3 separate regions of the Homo sapiens genome follow, and all the other regions are linked to region 2. The links are contacts of gene promoters, found by promoter capture Hi-C in human tissues and cell types (Jung and others, 2019). All regions are on one chromosome and are shown on one strand. Each heading gives the region's core, a stretch centred on a gene start or on the middle of the fragment in contact. The rest is flanking DNA. Distances are from core to core; before and after follow the strand shown. Region 1 has its middle 6.7 kb from the start of IL2RB. Region 2 holds the start of IFT27 (intraflagellar transport 27). Region 3 overlaps MYH9 (myosin heavy chain 9).

Region 1 (3,943 bases), core at 1,444-3,943, 380 kb after region 2:
GGAGTGCAGTGGCGCGATCTCGGCTCATTGCAAGCTCCGCCTCCCCGGTTCAAACAATTCTCCTGCCTCAGCTTCCCGAGTAGCTGGGATTACAGGCACACACCACCACACCCAGCTAATTTTTGTATTTTCAGTAGAGATGGGGTTTCACCATGTTGGCCAGGACGGTCTCGATCTCCTGACCTCGTGATCTGCCTGCCTTGGCCTCCCTAAGTGCTGGGATTACAGACGTTAGCCACCACGGCCGGCCATCCCTCTATCTCTTTCTCTCTCTCCCCTCCCCTGCCAGAATCCAGTGAAGTTTTGGGTAGAGGGGCTGGAGTCCCTTGAAGGACAGGCCCTCACCCCTCCTCAGACAATTCACACTGGGCTATAACTTGAATGAAAAATAAACCTCTATTGTTGGGCCTCTGAGACCTGGGGACTGCTGTTTCTGTTTTCTCTGACTCATACAGTCTGTCCCCCAGGTGCTACAGCTGAACATAAAACCAGGTGAGGAGGGGTGAGACAGTACGCCAGCAGAAGCCCAGAGGCATGGGTGGCCAGCAGGGGTGTGCAGAGAGGTGCACCTGCTTTCTTCAGCCCCTGCCCTGCTCAGAGCCGTGTCATCTCCCACCTCAGCAGGCCCATGGTGGCCTCCGCCCTGGTCTCCCTGTTTCTATTAATACTCCTGACTCTCTGGTCTGTTCTCCACTCAGCGGCCAGAGCAACCTTTCCCAAACTCAAATCACGTCATTTCACCCCCCAGCCACTCCCCATCATACACACTCAAACCTTCCCAGTGCATTCACAGTAAAATCCAAACTCTCAGTCTTGACCCACATGTCCTACAGGGACTGCCCCATCTTCATCTCTGACCCTGCCTCCTGTGCTTTCTCACTCTGTCAGGGCTTTGTGCATGCTGAGCCTGCTCTTCCCTTGCCATTTTACAGGCCAGGAAACCAGGCCTCATGAGTCATCCTACCAGAATGTGGCAGAGCCAGGATTAGAACCTAGGTCTGTCCCAGAGGACATCCGATTCTCTCTGAGGCAACCTGAGATGTAATCCAGAAGCTTCTCTGATGGCAGAGCCCTGACAGAGCCCACTCGGGCCTACCCAGACCTGGGTCTCAGGAGTGCTGGGGTTTGGACCCAGCCTCCTCCACGAGCTCCACGCCTTGCTCCTATAACTACTTCTCTTACGTCTTCCACATCCCCACCTGACCCTCTGCGCTGCATCTTCATGGGTCCCACTGGGAACAAACCGCCTCATACCCTCTGTTTCCATGCACCCAGTCCCACAGCCCTCCCACCACTGGACCCAGACCCCTCTTTCACAGGGGCCATGGGACAAGGGCATATTGGGGTCTTCCAGCCCTGATGTCCTTGGGCTGTCTTTTTTGGGGCCAAGCCAGACTGCATCCTCCTCAGTCCTGGTATCTGCCAAACGCCCTACCCGTCCTCCCTCTGCTCACTGGAGTGCTTGGCCCTTGCGCTCAGCCTCCCTCTCCACTCCGCCTCCCAGGAGATGTCAGGGTCCACACTGTAGCCTCCAGCCTCCTGTTCCCTCTGAACTGCTCCATACCAGTCCCACACCCAGGCCTGCACTTGCACCCTGCCATCATTCTGACCTGTGTTAACCAAGACCCCTTGAACTTCCACCTCAGCTCACCCGCGTGCTGCCATCACCGCCTCCACTGTACAACAGTGTCCCAGTTAGGATGAAGTTCAGCTGCGTGTGTCCAAAGAGAACAGAAGAAGAAAACAGTGACCTAAAATAAGAGAGGGCTTTATTTCTCTCTTACATAAAAGAAGTCCAAAGGGAGGCCACCCAGGCTAGGTGGGGTGGCTTTATGATGTCAGGATCCTGAGCTAAATCTGGCTTGCTACTAGGGTCTCTTCAATATCCTTCTCCCATCTCCTCATAGACCAAGAGAGCTATTCAAGCTCCACCCATCACCTCTGCGTTCCTGCAGATGGAAGGGAAAGGAAGGAGAGAGGGAGGGCTTGCCTCTGCCTGTTAAGGACCCTTCCCCAAAGCTGCCGTAGCCACTTCTAATGTACATCCCATTGGCTACGCCTGAGTCACATAGCCAACCAAGCTGCAGAGGAGGCTGGGAGATGTAGCCAGCTATAAGTAGAGGGCACACGGGCAGGGGAGAGCAGGTTTGGGGGTGCCATTCACTGTCTCTGCCACCGCCTGTCCTCTGCCATTGTGAAGACCTCCAGTATCTCCAGGGCCACCTCCCTTCCTGCCCTCCCTGGCTCAGCCAGCTGACACTGTCACCCACCCTCAAGTCCTTGTGTTCCGCCCACCCCTGCTCGGTGCTGTGACCTGTCTTCTGGAAAGTCAGCAGGTAGCCGAGTCCCCAGCTGGAAAAAAAGTCCTGCCCCCACAGTGCCAGGCCTCACCAGTGACCTGGTTTTGAGTCCTGGTCCCTGGTCAGGAGGACTATGGTATACATAATTTGGTGTCTGACCCTCCGCCCAGTCCCCATCAGACTGTGGGGTACCCCTCATGACAAATGAGGATCACAAAGCTGCAGGGGCCCACAGAGGGGCCAGAGCAGAACAAGGAGAAAGAGCAGGCTAGCGGCCGACTTCCTGAGGGCTGTCCTCCGAGCATGCCCCTCTGCTGACACCTGCTCTTCACTGGAGGCGCCCCACCCACCAGTCCCCAAGACAGACTGTGGCCATTCTCCCTGACTCCTTCCCTCCCTCACCCCCTCCTTCCAAGCCATCACCCTTACTTCTGCTTTGCCACAGCAGCCACCTCCACGCCAGCCCCCCAGGCTCCAGACCTGAAGCCCCACGTTCTTCCCTGTTCATCCGGGAGCTGCCTGCTTCATAGCCACACCAGCACCAGCGCCCTGAGCAGCTCCTATCTTGTGCAAACCATGCCATTCCTTACCAGGATCGCGCCAAGGTGACCAGCTGTCCCACTGTGCCTGGGACTGAGGGGGGTTTCCAGAACATAAGATTTACAGTGATATTCCTAGGACAAAGTTGGTCACCATATTCCCACCCTACTTACTCAGACTAATCAGCTCCCCGATTTAAAACCAGTCCTTCCCTGATCTCCAATTCTGGCCAAGGCAGATTCTGGGCACAAGCCAGTTACCATATCTCATGTCAGAGCCTTGCTTATGAGTCTACACCAGGAGCTCTTGGACAACAGGAACAGTGTGGGATTCATCCACACCACTCCAGAACCCAGAAAATTACCTGACATACGGACAGTGTCAATATGAGGGGAAGGAAGGAAAAAAGGAAAAGAGAAAGAATCAAAAGTGCTAAGTCCCTAATACCCTGAAGAGTCCTGAGAATACACATTAAAAACACCAGGATAGCATATTTGAAGTTTCAAAAGCTTTGCCATCAAAGGCAGGTTGAAAAGGCGAGTCACCCTGCTGGCGTGGGCTTCAAGCATCTCCCTGGAAGGCAATCTGACATCTACCAACATCTCTGACACATGACCCAGCAATTCCACACCTAAAACTCATCAACAGAGTGACCCATGTTGAACACGTGTGTACAAAGTAACTCCTGCAGTCACGGGACCCGAGGCCAACAAAATGCGCATCCATAGGGGACAGGTGATGAGCAAATTAGGGAACTTCCATCCAGTGGAATGCCACGTAGCTATGCCAAGATAGGAAGGGGAGGGCTGGGCGCGGTGGCTTATGTCTGTAATCCCAGCACTTTGGCAGGCTGAGGCGGGCGGATCACGAGGTCAGGAGATCGAGACCAGCCTGGCCAACATGGCAAAACCACGTCTCTACCAAAAATAAAAATTAAAAAAAAATTAGCCGGGCGTGGTGGTGGGCACCCCGTAGTCCCAGCTATTCAGGAGGCTGAGGCAGAAGAATCACTTGAACCCGGGAGGCAGAGGTTGCAGTGAGCCAAGATTGCGCAACCGCACTCGAGCCTGGGTGACTGAGCAAGACTCCGTCTAAAAAAAATA
Region 2 (3,761 bases), core at 989-3,488:
GGATTCAATGAGACCACCTGTATTGAGGGTCTAGCAGAGCTGATGCACCCAAAGCGCCAGTAAGTTAGCTCCATGATGAAAACCGAATTTAAAAAGAACCCAGAGAGAAGCCCATTTAAAAAAAAAAGTAACTTCAGAAAATAATGTTCCCACCTTATCCATAAGGAAATTAAAGCTCAAAAAGTGCTTCGTCCAAGATGACACAGCCAATAAGAGGAACAGGCAAAATTACTTTTGTTACACAACACTGCCTCCTCTGGTGCTCTGGAAACTGGAGATTCTCCTGAGAACCATTAATTTATTTTGCTCCAGTATGATTCAGTTACTACTGTCAGTCATCTTTCTGTGTGACCCTTTTATTTTCAAATTATAAAAGCCATTAAAAATATTATCATTTATTCTCAGTCTGGAAGAGGGGAATTTTTTAAAACAGGAATCTCTTTTTCTCTATATAATTTCTCACCACTTCTTTCCTGAGCTGGCCAGGGAAGCCTGGAAAGGTCACAGGTTTCAACAGAAACACGAGTTAAGAGTTTTGGAGTTGGCCAGATCTAGGGGCTGAAATCCTGCATAGGGCCTTCACTAGGGGTTGACCTTGGCTGACATCTCTCAGTGCCTCAGTAAGATCAGAACAATCCAGTACCTGGCCGGGCGCAGTGGCTCATGCCTGTAATCCCAGCACTTTGGGAGGCCGAGGTGGGTGGATCACCTGAAGTCAGGAGTTCGAGACCAGTCTGGCCAACATGGTGAAACCCCAGCTCTATTAAAAATACAAAAAAAAATTAGCCGGGCATGGTGGCTTGCGCCTGTAATCCCAGCTACTTGGGAGGCTGAGGCAGGGGAATTGCTTGAACCAGGGAGGTGGAGGTTGCAGTGAGCCGAGATTGCGCCACTGCCCTCCAGCCTGGGCAACAGCGTGAGACTCCGTCTCAAAAAAAAAAAAAAAAAAGAAAAACAATCCAGTACCTAGCCCAGTGTGCTATGGTGAGACGATTACATGAAATATGTGTGCTTCACATGCAGTAAGCACTCAGTAACATGCATATGTGTTTCGCAGTCTATAATCCAAAATATTGTTTTTCTAAATGTGCAGACTGATACAAGGGGTACACTACAAATGTGCATGCCACATATTCACATATTCATCCATTCTAAAAGTATTTATTGAGTACCTACTATGTTCCAGGCATTGTTCTGGGTGCTTGGGATGTATCAGTCAACAAAACAAAGATTCCTGCCTTTGGGAGACTCAACATTTATGCCCTTCTTGGAGTGGGGCAGCACAGTAACTTTGGGTCTTAAAGACAACACACAAGTGCCTTTTGCAAACTCTGGTCACTACACTCAGGTCACCGTTATCAGAGGGGGTGAGGTCGGGGGAAAAATCCCATAGTAAAGACTACCAAAGTCACTGATGCCTAACTTTGGGGTACAGTATATGTTTAGCTGAAGCACTCAAGGTTTGCTTAAGCTTTGTTTGTTTTGTTTTGTTTTAACAAGTCTGCTTCTCCAGAGTTGTAACTAGTGATTTTTTAACGAGTCACCTCAACTGGTGAAGGTGGTCTCAGAGTATGTGACAGGGAGCAGGGGGAAATCCACTGGAGCTGCGAAGTGCCCTGGAAGATCATTCTTCCACGCCTAACGTAATTTACTGTATCAGTAATTGCAGTAACTCGCCTTTGGGAGAGAGAAAGGAAAAGGTAGGCAATTTAGGTGAACAAAAGCTCTGGATGAATTATGAAGGCTCTGGACTCCAGAGACCACCGTATTCAAGCGCAAGTTTTCAGACTCACCTGCCAGGATGCATTTGGCTGCCAGCTTCACCATGGTAACCAACACTCCCGCGAGCCGTACCCAGAGGACAAGAGCGGCTGCTAGAGACGCGAGTGGGTGGGCTTCGGGCCCTGGGCTGGCCTGGGACGGGAAGGTGGGGAGGGGAGGGCTGATCTCAAGGGTCAGTGGCCGCGACGGGACTGGGGATGACCGAGCCCGGCCCTTCTGGGCCGGGGGCGGATATCGGGCGCTGGGGGCGGGTGGGCAGGGGAGGGCTCCAGGTGGGCCCGGCTCGAGGCCTGACACGGCAGTCTGAAAAGGTGCAAGCGAGCGGACACGGCCTGTGCTCCCCGCCCAGCCCCTCAGCACAGCCCTACCCAGAGGGTTCAAGGAAGGACGATCCGGCTCTCCTCCGATCACAAGTACCGGGCCGGATGCACTCTCCAAGCAACCATAGCCCACCTGCCCCGCCTCCTCCTCCTCCTCGCTGACCCTCGATTGGTTGCCGCCAAAAGCTCCCACCCTCAAGGTCTCACAAAAATCCAATGGGAGTAGAGAGCTGGGATAACAGCCTTTTCTTGAGATGCAATTCGTAGAGTTATCAGTTCTTCAAGTTCAGTCTGCTTGACGAGTGGTTGTAATTGACGTCAACCAGCTTTATATCCCGCCCCCGCTGCGCCTGAGAGTCCCGAGATAAAGAAGCCTCCACGTCAAGCAGTCAGAAGCGGTGACAAGAGAAGCTTTCTGATTGGTCAGAGTCTGGCTTGACCCATCTTCGGGAGGAATAGGGATTCGCCACTCCCGCTGTCCTTCTAGAAGTGGGTTCGCCTACAATGGGGCAGGTTGGGCTCTAGGCGGTCTGGAGCGGCGCCTGCGCAGTGGGCCAGGCCGCCGCTGTAGAGGTCGTTTTGACTTGCTCTGACTTCGCGCGGTTCTCGCGGCTTCCCCGGTTCCCGGGTTCTGCACAGCGCGGCTATTAAAGTGCATGGAGAAGTGCAGTCCTTGCCCCGCATCCCGCAGGGAAATCTCATTTTAAAAGCTCAAAGATGTAATGAGCGTTAAAATCTAAAATATGAAGGTGTTTTATTAAAGTGATGTTTGTGAACAAAGGGAGAACAAATACACTTTGATGGGGCTAAGCGGTGAGACTCGGAAACTTGAAGTCGTACTTTGCTCTTAGTCCATTTACTCTCTGCAAAAGGAGAATGCATCACTAACCTCGTTTGCCCGTCACCCAGGGAGGCTCTCTGTACGCGTTTACTGGGTTGGGGGTGCCTCTTGCACGTGGTTAGGGGGTCAGAGACCTAAATCCCTGGCCTGGACAAGTCACCTCATCCCTCAGCCTCAGGATGGGCCTAGGAGAACCCGCCTTGTGGGGTGGTTGTGGAGATGGAAGGAGAGAAACGTATGAGTGCCTGGGAGATAGTAGGTGCACACGTGATTGTGGGGTGGATGGGAGAGCGGAAGCTTATCTGGACAGATTTGGTTTATCATCACTGTCACTGGTTGGCCGAATGTACCCCTTGTTCTCACTTTCTCAGGGCCCCTGGGATTCTGATGGCTGATGCTGAAGGGAAGAGCAGCCCCTCAGCAAAGGTGCCTGTGCGAAAGTTCCACATTCCCTCCAGACACCTAGAACATTCCACCTCTCCGCCACTCTGCATCTCAGAGTGGCTGCCAGCCTTGTGTGGGGGAATAAACACACACACTCTATGAATGGCTGATGGTTTCAGCCCCGAATCCAGAGTAAATGCAAGTTGTCTGAGATGTTCTTTCCTTGGGATTCATTCCTGGCGCTACGGTAAAGGTCTGTTTCTCCTTCATTTCTCGTAACTGCTTTTCTTCTTTGGTGACATCACGTGAGTCTGTCTCAGACATCCAGGTCTGAGTGAGCAAAAAGCCTCTTTCTGGTCTTCTGCCTTCCTCTTGCCGGCTCCCCTCCAGGCCAACCTGTTCACCATGAGTGACCCTGTTAATCCCTTAAAGGA
Region 3 (4,054 bases), core at 1,278-3,777, 410 kb before region 2:
CTCCCGTCTGTGCTCTGTACTTGTTCCACTGTAACCAAACAGCTAAATACTCATTATTTGTAGTTTTATTTGAGGACAGGAATTGGGTCTCATTCATCAATTCCAAATGTCTGGCACAATGCCTGGCCCAGAGCAGGTGCTCAGTTAAAGTGTCCTGAATGAATAAATGAGAAACAAGGCCAAAATGAGGAAGAAAGACTTAATGGGGAAGGTCCCCAGAGGCTGGAAAATCCCCTTGGGCTGTGGCTGTGCAAAGAGGGACAGGGCTGGAGAGCTGAAGGTAACAGGAGAGCCAAGTTGAAACCACACACGCGTAAGGGTTATAGCCACCTAATTTGTTACAAACACCAAACCATTTATGGACTAATTTTTATATCCTCAAAACAAAAAGGGAAAGAATGCATACTGGGGCTTTCAATCTACAAAGAGAAATAGGACTGAGGATAATTTACTGGTTTTACATATAGTTCAACCATCTCTGTTTTCTAGAACCTTCTAGCACCCCCTGATTAACCAGTGTAGAGGCACCTACCACCTACTACCAGTCCGACATACCAGAAAGAATCTTGGCTGGCATGGCCTCTGCTCTTGCTAGGATGCCATGAGAAGGTCGTGTGCCCTCCTGGAATGCTACGCCTCCATCTATCAAGTAGGTGCTGGCAACATCAACCTTTGGTATCAACTCAGAAGTGACAGACAGAAGTGGAAAAACCACAGCCATGTGAGGTCCTGGTTCTGCAAACCCTAAGATAAATGCTTGTAATGTACCACAATGGAGTTTATGGCTTTGGGGCCAGACAGACCTGGATTGGAGTCCCAGGTCCCCTGCTCACAATTCCTGTGACCTTGAAGCTGTTAGCACCCCAATTTCCTAGCTTTAGAATGAGGACAAACACCACCACCACCACCACCACCACCACCACCACCACCACCACCACCTAACATCAGAAGAGTTGTAGCTCAAGCTCCCAGTGGAGAATGGCATGATAGGAATTTCCCTCCCAACTCCTCTATCTTGTGATTCTGAGCTATTTAATCCCCATTCTTCCTAGGAATGACACCTGGGCCCTCTGAAAATCAGTTACCAGGAGTCTAGTGACTCTTTCTGCAGGTTATATCCATCCATAGAGGACAGTTCTCAGGGACAGTGACTATAAAGACAGCAATTTGCAGAGGGAAGAGGGTTTCGTGGCCGAGTAAGGATGGAATGCCGTCTCCCTATGGCCCTCTTGCAATCACAATATGCACAAAATGTTGTAGGAAGCAGCCTGCAAAAAGAAATCTGCTTAACTTAGGCCGGGCACAGTGGCTCACACCTGTAATCCCAGCACTTTGAGAGGCCGAGGCGGGCGGATCACGAGGTCAGGAGATCGAGACCATCCTGGCTAACACGGTGAAACCCCGTCTCTACTAAAAATACAAAAAATTAGCCGGGCATGGTGGCGGGCACCTGTAGTCCCAGCTACTCTGGAGGCTGAGGCAGGAGAATGGCGTGAACCTGGGAGGGGGAGCTTGCAGTGAGCCGAGATCGCACCACTGCACTCTAGCCTGGGCAACAGTGTGAGACTCCATCTCAAAAAAAAAAAAAAGAAAGAAAAAGAAAAAAGAAATCTGCTTAACTCCATCCCAGGAATATCCTGCAGGAAAAACCTCTCTCCATGCTGGTCTGGGAAATGCTGGTCTGGTGAGATGGGCACAAAGCCTGTGGCAGAAGAGCTGGATTTGAGTCCAGCGAGGTGCTGACCAGCTGTGCAATCCTGCAGGCACCACCCAGGCCTCGGCTTTCCCACCTGCAAAATGTCCTATCTGCTCACAGGTATGCACAAGGCCACTCTCTGCAATACACACCAGGGCTGTCAGAGCAGTTATCTACAGGGTGGGTCAATAAAGTGGCTCCTCTGTCACCCAGGGCTAATAACCTACAGCAGCCTCGACCTAGGCCCTCACTCTCCCCAGGCTAACAAGGAGTGGGGGGCTCCTCCCAGCTGCCAGTGCCCAGGAGGTAGGAGCTGAAGACTGCGGGTGGGCCCCCCTTCCCTTTCCACCTCAGGAATGTTGTTTGCTTACAGAAGAAGCTGGAACTTGTTTCCATTAGCAGTATTCCAACCCAAGCCTGTGTTGATGCTTAGCAGATAAGAAAACCAGAGAGGAACTTAGTGCCCGGGCCCCAGAGCCTGCCCCATCTGCAGGTTCTGCCTTTGCCTCCTTGAAGCGGGCATGGAGGGGGGCTCAGGTGACTGCTGAAAGTCCAGGAAACAATGAAAGATGATGGCATTTGCCTGTCCAAGGGAGGGCCTGTGGTCACTTTCACTTTGCCTGGCACCGAAGGAAACTCAGGCTATCAAAAACAACACCAGTACGTATTTCAAATCATGTTGTACACAATGGATATAAACAATTTTTGTCAACTTAAAAATTAAATGAACAATTTCTTTTAAAAAAAAAATGACACCAGAAACCAGAATGTGGTACATAGAGTCCCTCCTCCTGCATGGGAAGGGGTGGGGGCAATAGCTTGGGACAGGCTGGAGGAGATAAACTGGGGCAGCTAACCCAGGATCTTATCAGCCATTTAGGAATGTGGACTTTATTCTAGGGATAATTGGGGAGGAGCAGAGGTGACATCAGATTTGTATTTTAAAGTAATTGGCTGGGGGTGTACGGTGGCTCACGCCTGTAATCCCAACACTTTGGGAGGACAAGGCAGGTAGATCACGAGGTCAGGAGTTCAAGACCAGCCTGGCCAACATGGTGAAACCCCATCTCTACTAAAAATACAAAAATTAGCCAGGCGTGATGGTGTGCGCCTGTAATCCCAGCTACCCGGGAGGCTGAGGCCAAGAATTGCTTGAACCCAGGAGGCAGAGGTTGCAGTGAGCCGAAATTGCGCCACTGTACTCCAGCCTGGGGGACAGAGCGAGACTCTGCCTCAAAAATAAAAAAAACAGAAATCATCCTCCCTTACCTGCATGGAGGGGGCAATGAGAAGTCAGTGGTTGGAAAATACTGGGGACTTGCAAGGAGGGAGCTTCCAATCTAAGAGAAGAAAAGACAGTTCCCTGACCAGGCTAGGTGGAGAGTGATTAAATGACACGAGAGGGACAAGTGCAGCCATAGACTTTACCCTCTGATCTCCTACTCCATAGAGCCTGGCTCGAGGAGAGTCCTGGAATCACCGTCCTACGACAGTGAGAAGTGACCAAGCAATCCCAGGAGCTCCAGGGCCAGTGTTTCCAGAGCATCTTAGGCACAGATCTCATGTGGCATGTGTCACACAGACTACACAATAAAGTGTCCAATGGGGTGTCCTCCACTAAGATACCAACTTCAGGACCACAGAGACATGGCTTTAGATCCTCAGCACAGAAACCATTTCTGAGTCGCTCTGTTGCCCGGGCTGGAGTGCAGTGGCACAATCTTGGCTCACTGCAACCTCTGCCTCCTGGATTCAAGTGATTATCCCGCCTCAGCTGGGACTACAGGTGCATGCCAGCACGCTCGGCTAATTTTTGTATTTTAGTAGAGATGGGGTTTCACCATGTTGGCCAGGATCGTCTTGAACTCCTGACCTCAAGTGATCCACCTGCCTCAGCCTTCCAAAGCGCTGGGATTACAGGCATGAGCCACTACACCCGGCCTGAAACCATTTCTTAATGAATAAATCAAACAACCAATGAGCCAGGGCAGAAAGCAGCAAAAGTTTGAGGCCAGCCCTGCCATCACCCCAGAATGATAGCCCGCCCAGCATGGATAGAAGTGTGCCCCCTACAGCCTTTATAACCCCACCCCAATGCCTTCCACCAGTGCCTCTCAACCATCTTTCCAGCCACACCTCTCTTATCCCCTGCTACAACCCTCCATTCCAGTCACTAGAGCACACTCCCCAGAGCAGCCTTTGCTTCAGCTGTCACCCAGAGACAAGCTGGAGGGCCCATCTCCCCAATTCTCCACAGACTGAGAGTCCCCAAAACCAAGTGGACATGCCATCGCCCCCAGGCAGCCTCTCCTAGTATGAATTACTCATAGTATGAATTACCCTAGTATGAATTACTCA

Evidence for each region. The method cuts DNA at HindIII sites, captures the fragments that hold promoters and counts their contacts. A contact is called where the count stands out against the background at its distance.
Region 1: a contact is called between a fragment that was not itself captured here and the fragment with the promoter of IFT27 in region 2, in 2 of the 25 tissues and cell types used here (mesenchymal stem cells and spleen).
Region 3: a fragment that was not itself captured here is called in contact with the fragment with the promoter of IFT27 in region 2 in 1 of the 25 tissues and cell types used here (small bowel).

The regions. Positions count from the first base shown.
Region 1 is chr22:37,154,624-37,158,566 of GRCh38, forward strand. It overlaps a transcript of IL2RB not described here. Among named protein-coding and RNA genes, the nearest start is that of IL2RB, 6.7 kb to the left of the region's middle. The HindIII fragment of the contact is 5,288 bases long and covers 50-3,943 here.
Region 2 is chr22:36,773,881-36,777,641 of GRCh38, forward strand. It overlaps IFT27 (intraflagellar transport 27), which reads right to left and starts at 2,239. Exons shown (of 7, transcript NM_001177701.3): 1 at 1,794-2,239. The coding sequence starts at 1,827. RefSeq lists silencers at 1,801-1,860, 1,991-2,040 and enhancers at 1,939-2,502, 2,281-2,540, 3,068-3,631. The HindIII fragment of the contact is 3,270 bases long and covers 1-2,876 here.
Region 3 is chr22:36,359,138-36,363,191 of GRCh38, forward strand. All of the region lies in intron 1 of MYH9 (myosin heavy chain 9), which reads right to left. Among named protein-coding and RNA genes, the nearest start is that of MYH9, 27 kb to the right of the region's middle. RefSeq lists enhancers at 1-9, 110-319, 3,562-4,054. The HindIII fragment of the contact is 7,297 bases long and covers 1-4,054 here.